Regions from separate parts of the Homo sapiens genome. Here regions 1 and 2 are each linked to region 3. The links are contacts of gene promoters, found by promoter capture Hi-C in blood cells and fetal thymus (Javierre and others, 2016). All regions are on one chromosome and are shown on one strand. The core of a region is centred on a gene start or on the middle of the fragment in contact, and the rest is flanking DNA. Distances in the headings are between cores, read along the strand shown. Region 1 has its middle 6.9 kb from the start of YJU2B. Region 2 holds the start of ADGRL1-AS1 (ADGRL1 antisense RNA 1). Region 3 holds the start of ZNF333 (zinc finger protein 333).

What was found. Contacts are between HindIII fragments. The CHiCAGO score rates a contact against its expected background, and 5 or more counts as called.
Region 1: a contact is called between a fragment that was not itself captured here and the fragment with the promoter of ZNF333 in region 3, in 1 of 17 cell types (naive CD4 T cells). The highest score is 5.3, in naive CD4 T cells.
Region 2: the fragment with the promoter of ADGRL1-AS1 here is called in contact with the fragment with the promoter of ZNF333 in region 3 in 7 of 17 cell types (fetal thymus, naive CD8 T cells, naive CD4 T cells and 4 more); the score reaches 9.7 in fetal thymus.

Annotation. Positions count from the first base shown.
Region 1 is chr19:13,739,593-13,742,462 of GRCh38, forward strand. It overlaps a transcript of YJU2B not described here. Among named protein-coding and RNA genes, the nearest start is that of YJU2B, 6.9 kb to the right of the region's middle. The HindIII fragment of the contact is 6,340 bases long and covers 1-2,870 here.
Region 2 is chr19:14,135,759-14,138,611 of GRCh38, forward strand. It overlaps ADGRL1-AS1 (ADGRL1 antisense RNA 1), which reads left to right and starts at 1,394. Exons shown (of 3, transcript NR_045214.1): 1 at 1,394-1,465. ASF1B (anti-silencing function 1B histone chaperone) reads right to left here and starts at 831. Exons shown (of 4, transcript NM_018154.3): 1 at 590-831. The coding sequence starts at 698. RefSeq lists a silencer at 597-646 and enhancers at 977-1,116, 1,194-1,820, 1,317-1,476. The HindIII fragment of the contact is 2,792 bases long and covers 1,021-2,853 here.
Region 3 is chr19:14,688,176-14,691,362 of GRCh38, forward strand. ZNF333 (zinc finger protein 333) reads left to right here and starts at 1,873. Exons shown (of 12, transcript NM_032433.4): 1 at 1,873-1,975. RefSeq lists silencers at 1,467-1,516, 1,847-2,216. The HindIII fragment of the contact is 1,516 bases long and covers 1,113-2,628 here.

The DNA of each region.
Region 1 (2,870 bases), core at 238-2,737, 950 kb before region 3:
TGTGGGCCACAGAGATCCAACCCCTCTTCCCACATACCAGGCCTCCAGCTCCTTCTCCTCTCTAGGAACCCAAAGTTTGAGTCTAGTCCTGGCTTCTTTATCCTTCCAGTCACCAATTAGAGCTCAGAAAGCAGGTCAAATAAGTTAGAATTTTTTTTTTAAGTTCTGGGATACATGTGCAGAACGTGCAGGTTTGTTACACAGCTATATATGTGCTGTGGTGGTTTGCTGCACCTATCAATCCATCATCTAGGTTTTAAGCCCCACATGCATTACGTATTTGTCCTAATGCTCTTCCTCCCCTTGGCCCCCATTCCCTGACAGGCCCCAGTGTGTGATGTTCCCCTCCCTGTGTCCACGCGTTCTCATTGTTCAACTCCCACTTATGAGTGAGAACATGCGGTGTTTGGTTTCTGTATGTTTACTGCATTACTATTTACAATAGCAAAGACTTGGAACCAACCCAAATGCCCACCAATGCTATCACTGGATTAAGAAAATGTGGCACATATATACCATGGACTACCATGCAGCCATAAAAAATTGAGTTCATGTCCTTTGCAGGGACATGCATGAAACTGGAAGCCATCACTCTCAGCAAACTAACATAAGTTAGAAATTTTAATTTATTTTTGTTTGAGACAGAATCTTGCTCTGTCACCCAGGCCGAGTACAGTGATGAGATCATGGCTCACTGCAGCCTCCACCTTCTAAGCTCAAGCAATCTTTCCACCTCAGCCTCTTGAGTAGCTTGGACTACAGGCACGTGCCACTATGCCTGGCTAATTTTTTGTTTTTTGTAGAGACAGGGGTCTCACCATGTTGCCGAGGCTGGTCTTGACCTCCTGGCCTCAAGTGATCCTCCCGCTTTTGCCTCTCAAAGCACTGGGGTTACAGGCATGAACCACCATGCCCAGCCAGTTAGACGTTTTTTGTTTTTTTGTTTGTTTGTTTGTTTTTTATGTGATGGAGTCTCGCTCTGTCACCCAGGCTAGAGTGTAGTGGCGCAATCTTGGCTCACTGCAACCTCTGCCTCCGAGTTCAAGCAATTCTCCTGCCTCAGCCTCCCGAATAGCTGGGATTACATGCGTGCGCCACCACGCCCGGCTAATCTTTGTATTTTTAGTGGAGATGGGGTTTCACCATATTGGTCAGGCTGGTCTTGAACTCCTGACCTCGCGATCTGCCTCCCTTGGGCTCCCAAAGTGCTGGGATTACAGGCGTGAGCCACCGTGCCCGGCCTTAGACATTTTTATATTTGGTTTGTGGCTGTGATCAAAGCCATTTGGGATGTCTGCCCAGCCCTACCCTCTTCATATGAGCACATCCAACCCTCAATTGCAGCCCTGCGCATAGGGTTCAGCTAAGCCACACCCAGATTCCTGACCCAAAGAAACAGTGAGATAATAAATGTTTTAGGCCTCTATACTTTGGGGTAATTTGTTACGCAACCAGAGATAAGTAATATATTGTCAAAACCAGGTAGGCTTTAATTAGTCTTTCCAGATGTCTGTTTCTTTCTTTGTGCTGGCTGGAGGCCTTTGGCTTTTATAGATTTCTTTTTTTTTTTTTTTTTTTTGAGACGGAGTTTCGCTCTTGTTGCCCAAGCTGCAGTGCAATGGCGTGATCTCAGCTCACTGCAACCTCTGCCTCCTGGGTTCAAGTGATTCTCCTGCCTCAGCCTCCTGAGTAGCTGGGATTACAGGTGCACGCCACCATGCCTGGCTAATTTTTGTATTTTTAGTAGAGATGGGGTTTCACCGTGTTGGTCAGGCTGATCTCAAACCCCTGACCTCATGATCGGCCCACCTCAGCCTCCCGAAGTGCTGGGATTACAGGTGTGAGCCACCATGCCTGGCCAGAAATTTTTTTTTAAGAGATGGGGTCTTTCTTTGATGCCCAGGCTGGAGTGGTGGGAGGATGACTTGAGCACAGGAGCCCAAGAGTAGCCTGGGCAACACAGGAAGACCTCGTTTCTACAAATTAAAAAAAAAAAAAAAAATTAGCTAGGCATGGTGCCTGTGGTCCCAACTACTCAAAAAGCTGAGGTGTGAGGACGGCTTGAACCTGGGAGTTCAAGGCTGCAGTGATTGCACCACTGCACTTCAGCCTGGGTGACAGTGGAGACCCTGTCTCAAACCAAACCAAACAAAACAAAACAAAACAAAAGAAGCTATTGGAGGGCCTTATAAGCTGCCTCAGAACCAAGGACTTCCTAACTTTCTCTTGTTTCTCCCCATCTCCCAAGCACAGGGAGGGGCTCTCTTTGGAAGTTCCCTTATTTGACTGATGAAAACTTCTTCCAAAAGAAATGCAGTTGTCTTAAGATGACTCCTCCCTAAGAATCTCATCAAATATCCAGGAAATATTAACCACTGGCAAAGAGAAAAGACTAAAAATTGGCATCATGTCCAAACAGACTTCATCTACTCCTCTCTGTGCAGCTTGGAGAGATTACATGGGAGACTTTATCTACATAATAAGACGGCCTTTGTTCACAATGAAGTTCTGCCCTCACCTTTCTGTCGCCTCCCCAAGAGCTCAGAGGAACTTTGTCCCAGGCCACTGTCTGTTCATTGGGCTTCATCAGTTCCCCTGAACATCATTCATTTCCCCTCAAAACTGCCTACATTCCCCATTTCTCTCTCCCCTAGGAAGACAGTATTTAACTCACAACCATCTGGTCCTTCTTTGAGTCCCACTTTTTTTTTTTTTTTTTTTTTTTTTTTTGAGACGGAGTCTCACTGTCGCCAGCGCTGGAGTGCAGTGGCGCAATCTCGGCTCACTGCAACCTCCGCCTCCCGGGTTCAAGCGATTCTCCTGCCTCAGCCTCCCAAGTAGCTGGCATTACAAGTCTCACATTTTATATG
Region 2 (2,853 bases), core at 144-2,643, 550 kb before region 3:
GGGAAAATGGGAAGGGGCTGGATATTGGGGGTCTCCAGAGGGAAAATGGGAGGTGTGAGTATCTCACTACAGGAAAGAGGGAATAAGTGGGCAAAAATGGGTGGGTGGTTGAAGCGGGGGTCTTGCCACAGGGAAACCACGGTGGCTGAAGATCTCCGTGGGTTAAGAAATGGAGGCCGAGAAGGTCTCCCCATGAAAACGGGTACCTAGGAAGAGCTCCAGAGAAAAAAGATGGATGAGGTTCCCCACGCGGGAAATGGGGCTTGGAGGGGGTTAATCTCTATGGGGAGGTCGGGGCGGGCAGTGGGGGAAGAGGCCACTGGGAGGTCCGAGTTAGCTGGCGGGGGGTCTCCACCCGGGAGGTCAAGGCGGGCAGTGGGGGAGGAGGTCACGGGGAGGTCCGTGTTGGCTGGTGGCGGGGGGTCTCCACCGGGAGATCCGGTTGACTGGCGGGCTGGGGGAGATCGGGGTTGGCGGAAGGGGGACGAGGGGTTTCATGGGGGAGATCAAGTTGGCCATGGGAGCGGTTCTCTGAGGGGAGGCCGGGGTCGGCCCGGGGGTGGGGGTCCCCGCACAGGCCCAGCCTCACCGTCCGCCAGGGCTTCACTGCACTCGAAGCTGATCTCGAACCGGAAGGGGCTGTGGAAAGGGCTCGGGTTCTCCAGGACCGCCACGTTCAGCACCGACACCTTGGCCATCGCCTCGCCTCGCCGCGCCGCAGCAGGGGCAGGGGCTGTGGCTGTGGCGGAGGCCGCGCCTGGGTCCGGTGGGGTCAGTGGGGTAGGGCTGACCAGGTCCACTCCCGCCTCTTCTCTCCGAGAACTGAAGTGCGCACCTAGTCCGCGCGCCGCCTTCAAATAGCCGGCCTCCGCCCTCTGGCCAATCACCGCCAACGCTCCCTGGCGGCGCGCGCACCCCCTCAGCCAGTCCTGGAGCGCCGATCGGCGCGCGCCCAGACTCCTCGGACCAATCAGCGGAGCTCCCTCTCCGCAGCGTGTGAGGAGGGCGAAACTATCTCCAAGCTTCTTAGCGTGTCCGCTGGAAACCAATCCCCAGCGTCTCCGACTTGGATGTCAACGGCGGGAATGGACGGAGTCACAGCGCCGGCCTCCTTCTGGCCAATCCTGAGGGTTCCCGCACCGGCGTGGCCCGCCCCTCGCCTCGCTTTTCCGGGAGATGCATCCCGCAGCGCGCAGCGCCGCCACCCGCCGAGCGGTGGCGCGCGGCGCTCGCTAAAGAAGGCGGGAAGGGCGGTGCTCGCACCCGAAGTGATTGGCAGGAGGGAGTGGGGCGGAGATAAAGAGGGTTTTCTGAGAGTTTATTGGCTGGATTGGTAATGGTGGCGGGAGCAGAAGGAGGCTCAGCTGGGGATTCGCTGGAGAGAAGCGGAAGTCGAGCGCCACCGCGGTGTTGGCGAGTGTGAAGAGAGAGGAGGAGCGTTTGCGGCCTCAGCGTCTGTCAACAGGTGAGCGTTTCCTGGAGCTTTTCTGAGTGGCTCCTGACCCTTGAGGTCCAGCGGCGCGGGAGTCCGTTGTGAACGTTGCGAACGTTCGGAGTGGCGGTCACGAGGCGCGCTCAGACCTCGGGAATCCGGCCGGGTTCGGATCCCGCTTTCGCCCCCGAGGGGTTCGGATCCCGCTCTCGCCCCCGAGGGGTTCGGATCCCGCTCTCGCCCCCGAGGGGTTCGGATCCCGCTCTCGCCCCCGAGGGGTTTGGATCCCTCTCTCGCCCCCTTGAGGGCTCTTGGGAGGTTTCAAGCGGACGGTACTGAAAATGGGAGTTCCAGTTCGGGGGCAGACCAGTGTTCAGAGTCCGGGCTCTGCTACTCAGCGCCCGAGGCAGCGCCTCCCCATTCAACGGGGGCCGTGGCAATTCCCTGACATGATTCATGACCACATAATACATCCGGAAACTTCTCTCCACCGCCTCCCGTCTGGGCCGTCGCCCCCGGCCTGGGAGACTCCAGGTCTCAGAGTCTCTGCCCCCACGGGCGATCAGTGCTGCCCAGTGGAAAAATAATGCCAGCCGCGCACCAAAATTAGGTGTAAAATTAACATTTTTTGGAAGCCACTTTTTTTTTTTTGAGATGGAATCTCGCGCTGTCACTCAGGCTGGAGTGCAATGGCGCGATCTCGGCTCACTGCAACCTCTACCTCCCGGGTTCAAGCGATTCTCCTGCCTCAGCCTCCTGAGTAGCTGGGATTACAGGTGCCCACCACCACAACCAGCTAATTTTTTTTCTGTATTTTCAGTAGAGACGGGGTTTCACCATGTTGGCCAGGCTGGTCTCGAACTCCTGACCTCAAGTGATCCGCCCGCCTCGGCCTTCCAGAGTGCTGGGATTACAGGCGTGAGCCACTGTGCCCGGCCATATCTTTTTTTATTATTATTTGTAATTTTAGAGGCTGGTCATGGAGGATTTCTTGAGGCCAGGAGTTCAAGATCAGCCTGGGCAACATAACAAGACCTCATATCTACAAAAAATAAAAGAATAAGCCAGGTGTGGTAGTGCATACCTGTAGTGTCTGCTACTCCTGAAGCTGAGGCAGGAGGATCTCTTGAGCCCAGAATGCTCCAGCCACTGCACTCCAGCCTGAGTGTCAGAGTGAGACCCTGTCTCTAAAAATTAAAATTAAATTTTAAAAAAGAAAGTTCAGTTTAGCTGTCTTGATAGCCGCAGTTGAGTGCTCCTGAGCCCGTGTGACAAGTGGCTCCTGTATTACTGGACAGCGAAGGTCAGAAACACATTTGACCAGGTCACTTCTCCGGATGAGAGCATTGTCTTTGAAACTCTATGCTTTGTCTCCTGTTAACCACCCAGCTCCAACTTCAAACCAGGCTAAGTAACCCTCT
Region 3 (3,187 bases), core at 623-3,122:
AACATTTAGCTTAAAACACAGATAAATTGTACTGCATAAAGGTATTTTCTTTCTTTATATCCTTATTCTATAAGCTATTTTTCATTTTTTTTTTTGAGATGGAGTTTTGCTCTTGTTGCACAGGCTGGAGTGCAATGGCAAGACCTTGGGTCACTGCACCCTCCACCTCCTGGGTTCAAGCAATTCTCCTGCCTCAGCCTCCCGAATAGCTGGGATTACAGGCGCATGCCACCATGCCCAGCTAATTTTTGTATTACTAGTAGAGACTGGGGGTTTCATCATGTTGGCCAGGCTGGTCTCGAACTCCTGACCTCAAGTGATCCACCAGCGTCGGCCTCCAAAGTCTTGGGATTGCAGGCGTAAGCCACCGCGCCCGGTCTTTTCATATTTTTAAAACCTTTTTAAATGTGAGTAATGTGTTGCACTGCAACATTGTGACAGTTACAACATCACTAGGTGATAAGAAATTTTCAGCTCCATTATAACCTTATGGGATCACAACTGTGTATGTGTTTCGTGGTTGACCAAAACCTTGTTATGTGGTGCATGACTGCACATGTGCTTGATATATAAAGAATACCAGGGAACTAGTGACAGTGGTTGTTTCAGGGGAGGAAAATTTAGGAATAGAGTGAGCCTCCCGTTTGAACTTTTCCCATAGGTATGTACTATGTATACTACATAATAAATAGTTTTTAAAAAGTCAGATCTATGTCTTAGATTCACACATCTTATTTTTAGTGAGAAGGGCAAGCTGTAGAAGAAACAAAAATACATCGTCCTATTTTTAGAATAAAGACAGTTAGTTGACCCGTGAACACCAAGGGTTTGAACTGTGGCTATCCCCTTATAGGTAGATTTTTTTCTACCTTTGTCCTCCTTGGGACAGCAAGACAAACCCCTCCCTTTCCTCAGCCTACTCAGGGTGAAGCTGACGATGAAGACGTTTATTTATGATCTTTACGATCACTTCCACGTAACGAAGAGTAAATATATTTTCTCTTCTTCATGATTTTCTTAATAACACTTTCTTTTCTCTGAGCTTAGTTTATTTTAAGAATATGGCATATAATATACAAAATATGTGTTAACTAACTTTATGTTATTGGTAAAGCTTCTGGTTAACAGTAGTCTATTAGTAGGTAGGTTTTGGGGGAGTCAAAAGAAGTGAATTTTCCACTGCACAGGGTGGCGCCCCAACTCCCGTTGCCTAAGGGTCAGCCGTATAAAAATATACAAAAACAATCTTAAGTATGGGTATATTTTTGTAGGGGATTGGATTAAGCCCATGGATAAAGGTGGAAGGGGTTGGGGAAAAGGAAGGAGAAAAGGGTAAGTTAAATATTGAGCATCCCTAAAGAGACCCGGGGAGGGGTCGGGTGTGCCCCTCTCAACCCTTGAAGCCCAGGTCCCCTCATCCCGCCTTCCGAATGCAAGTTCAGCTCCCATTCCCACCCCAAGCACAAGCCCCGCCCCATTTTTGCCCCTGAGGCGCACGACCCGCCCCTACTACCACCCTGCAAACCAAGGCCCCGCCCACTCCGCCATTGGGGTGCAAGCCCCGCCCATCAGCCATCGGAGGGCAAGCCACACTCCACCCCGCCCCCGCGCACAGGCCCCGCCCCACTTTTGCCCCGGGACCTAAGCCCCACCCCTATCCCTGTCTCTCGGACATAGGCTCCGCCCCCAGCACCACCCTCCATGCTCTGTGGGACCCCACTCCAGAGCCTAACCTCATCCCCCGGGTAAGAATACTAGAATTTCTCCTTGGAGGCTAAAGAAGACGTTAGTTTCTCTGCCGCCGCCTAAGGCTACCCTGGCCACAACAGCCTGAGCCACAGCCACTTCCGTTCCCGGCGGCCCCGAGACCGGAAGCGGAAGTGCGCGCGGCGGCGGCCGACGGCGGCTGAGCTGTGCTGCGCGGCGCGGCGCGGTGCGGCACGGCACGGTGGGAGTGTCTCCGGCTGGCTTGCAGGTGTGGCCCGGCCCCTCGGGAGGGCGGGGAGGGCGGGGAGGGCTCGGCTGGCGCGGGGAGGGACTGGAGGGCCTAGAACAGCTCCGCCTGTGTGAGGGGTTTCCTCCCTGCGATCAGCCGGTGGCCGGCGTGAGGCCCACACAGTCAGGGCCTCGCATCTGGGCGCCCGCCGCCCGGTCTCTCGCTCTCAGGTACCCCCCGTCCGGGCAGACAGGGCTGTCATCCTGTCAAAAGGGAAATCCCAAACAGTCCAGGTCCCACAGCTCAGAAATGTGGTGACACCGGCCCCAGCTCTCACCTGTCCTTCCCAATTTTTAGGGAAAGTGCATAAAGACGGCCCTACCTTGCCTACAGTATGCAAGATAACTGCGAATTAGTAATTCACGTTTTATTTGATATGATACTTAATATTATCTAGCTTTGCAACTGGAAAGTGAGGTCTGGGTCCACATGTGCAAACTGGTTTAATTGATTGGCCAAATTTACTTAAAAAATTGAATGCATCCTCCATTAAGGAATGAATTAGATGACGAGAGATTTCTTTTGGAGACTGACAATTTGAAGTCTTTTAGCTTAATATCTGTTAGCTTGGCTTTGCATCTCTTCCTTTTCCATAACTTTTTCTTTCTTCTTTTTTTTCTTTCTCATAAGAAAGCTTTTGGCCAGGCTTGGTGGCTCACTCCTATAATCCCAGCACTTTGGGAGGCCGAGGCGGGTGGATCACCTGAGGTCAGGAGTTTGAGACCAGCCTGGCCAACATGGTGAAACCCTGTCTTTACTAAAAATACACAAATTAGCCGAGCGTAGTGGTGGGCGCCTGTAATCCCAACTACTCGGGAGGCTGAGGCAGGAGAATCGCTTGAACCCCAGAGGCGGAGGTTGCAGTGAGCTGAGATTGTGCCACTGCACTCCAGCCTGGGTGACAGAGCAAGACTCCATCTCAAAAACAAAAACAACAACAAAAGGAGGAGTTCTTAATTTTTTTTGTTTTTGTTTTTCTTTATTTTCTATGTTTGAGACGACTTTTACTTCTGCTGTGGGCATCAAGTTTCTCACTGTTAGGTTAAGAAAAGCCGTTTCTCAGTTATTTCACAAATATTATTATCAAGAAAACCTAAGACTGTTATTCAGATCTTTTCAAGTTGGCTCCAGTCCTTCCCCCAAGCATGTGAATCACAGAGCTTCAAAACTAATGGAACTTCAGGGAAAAGA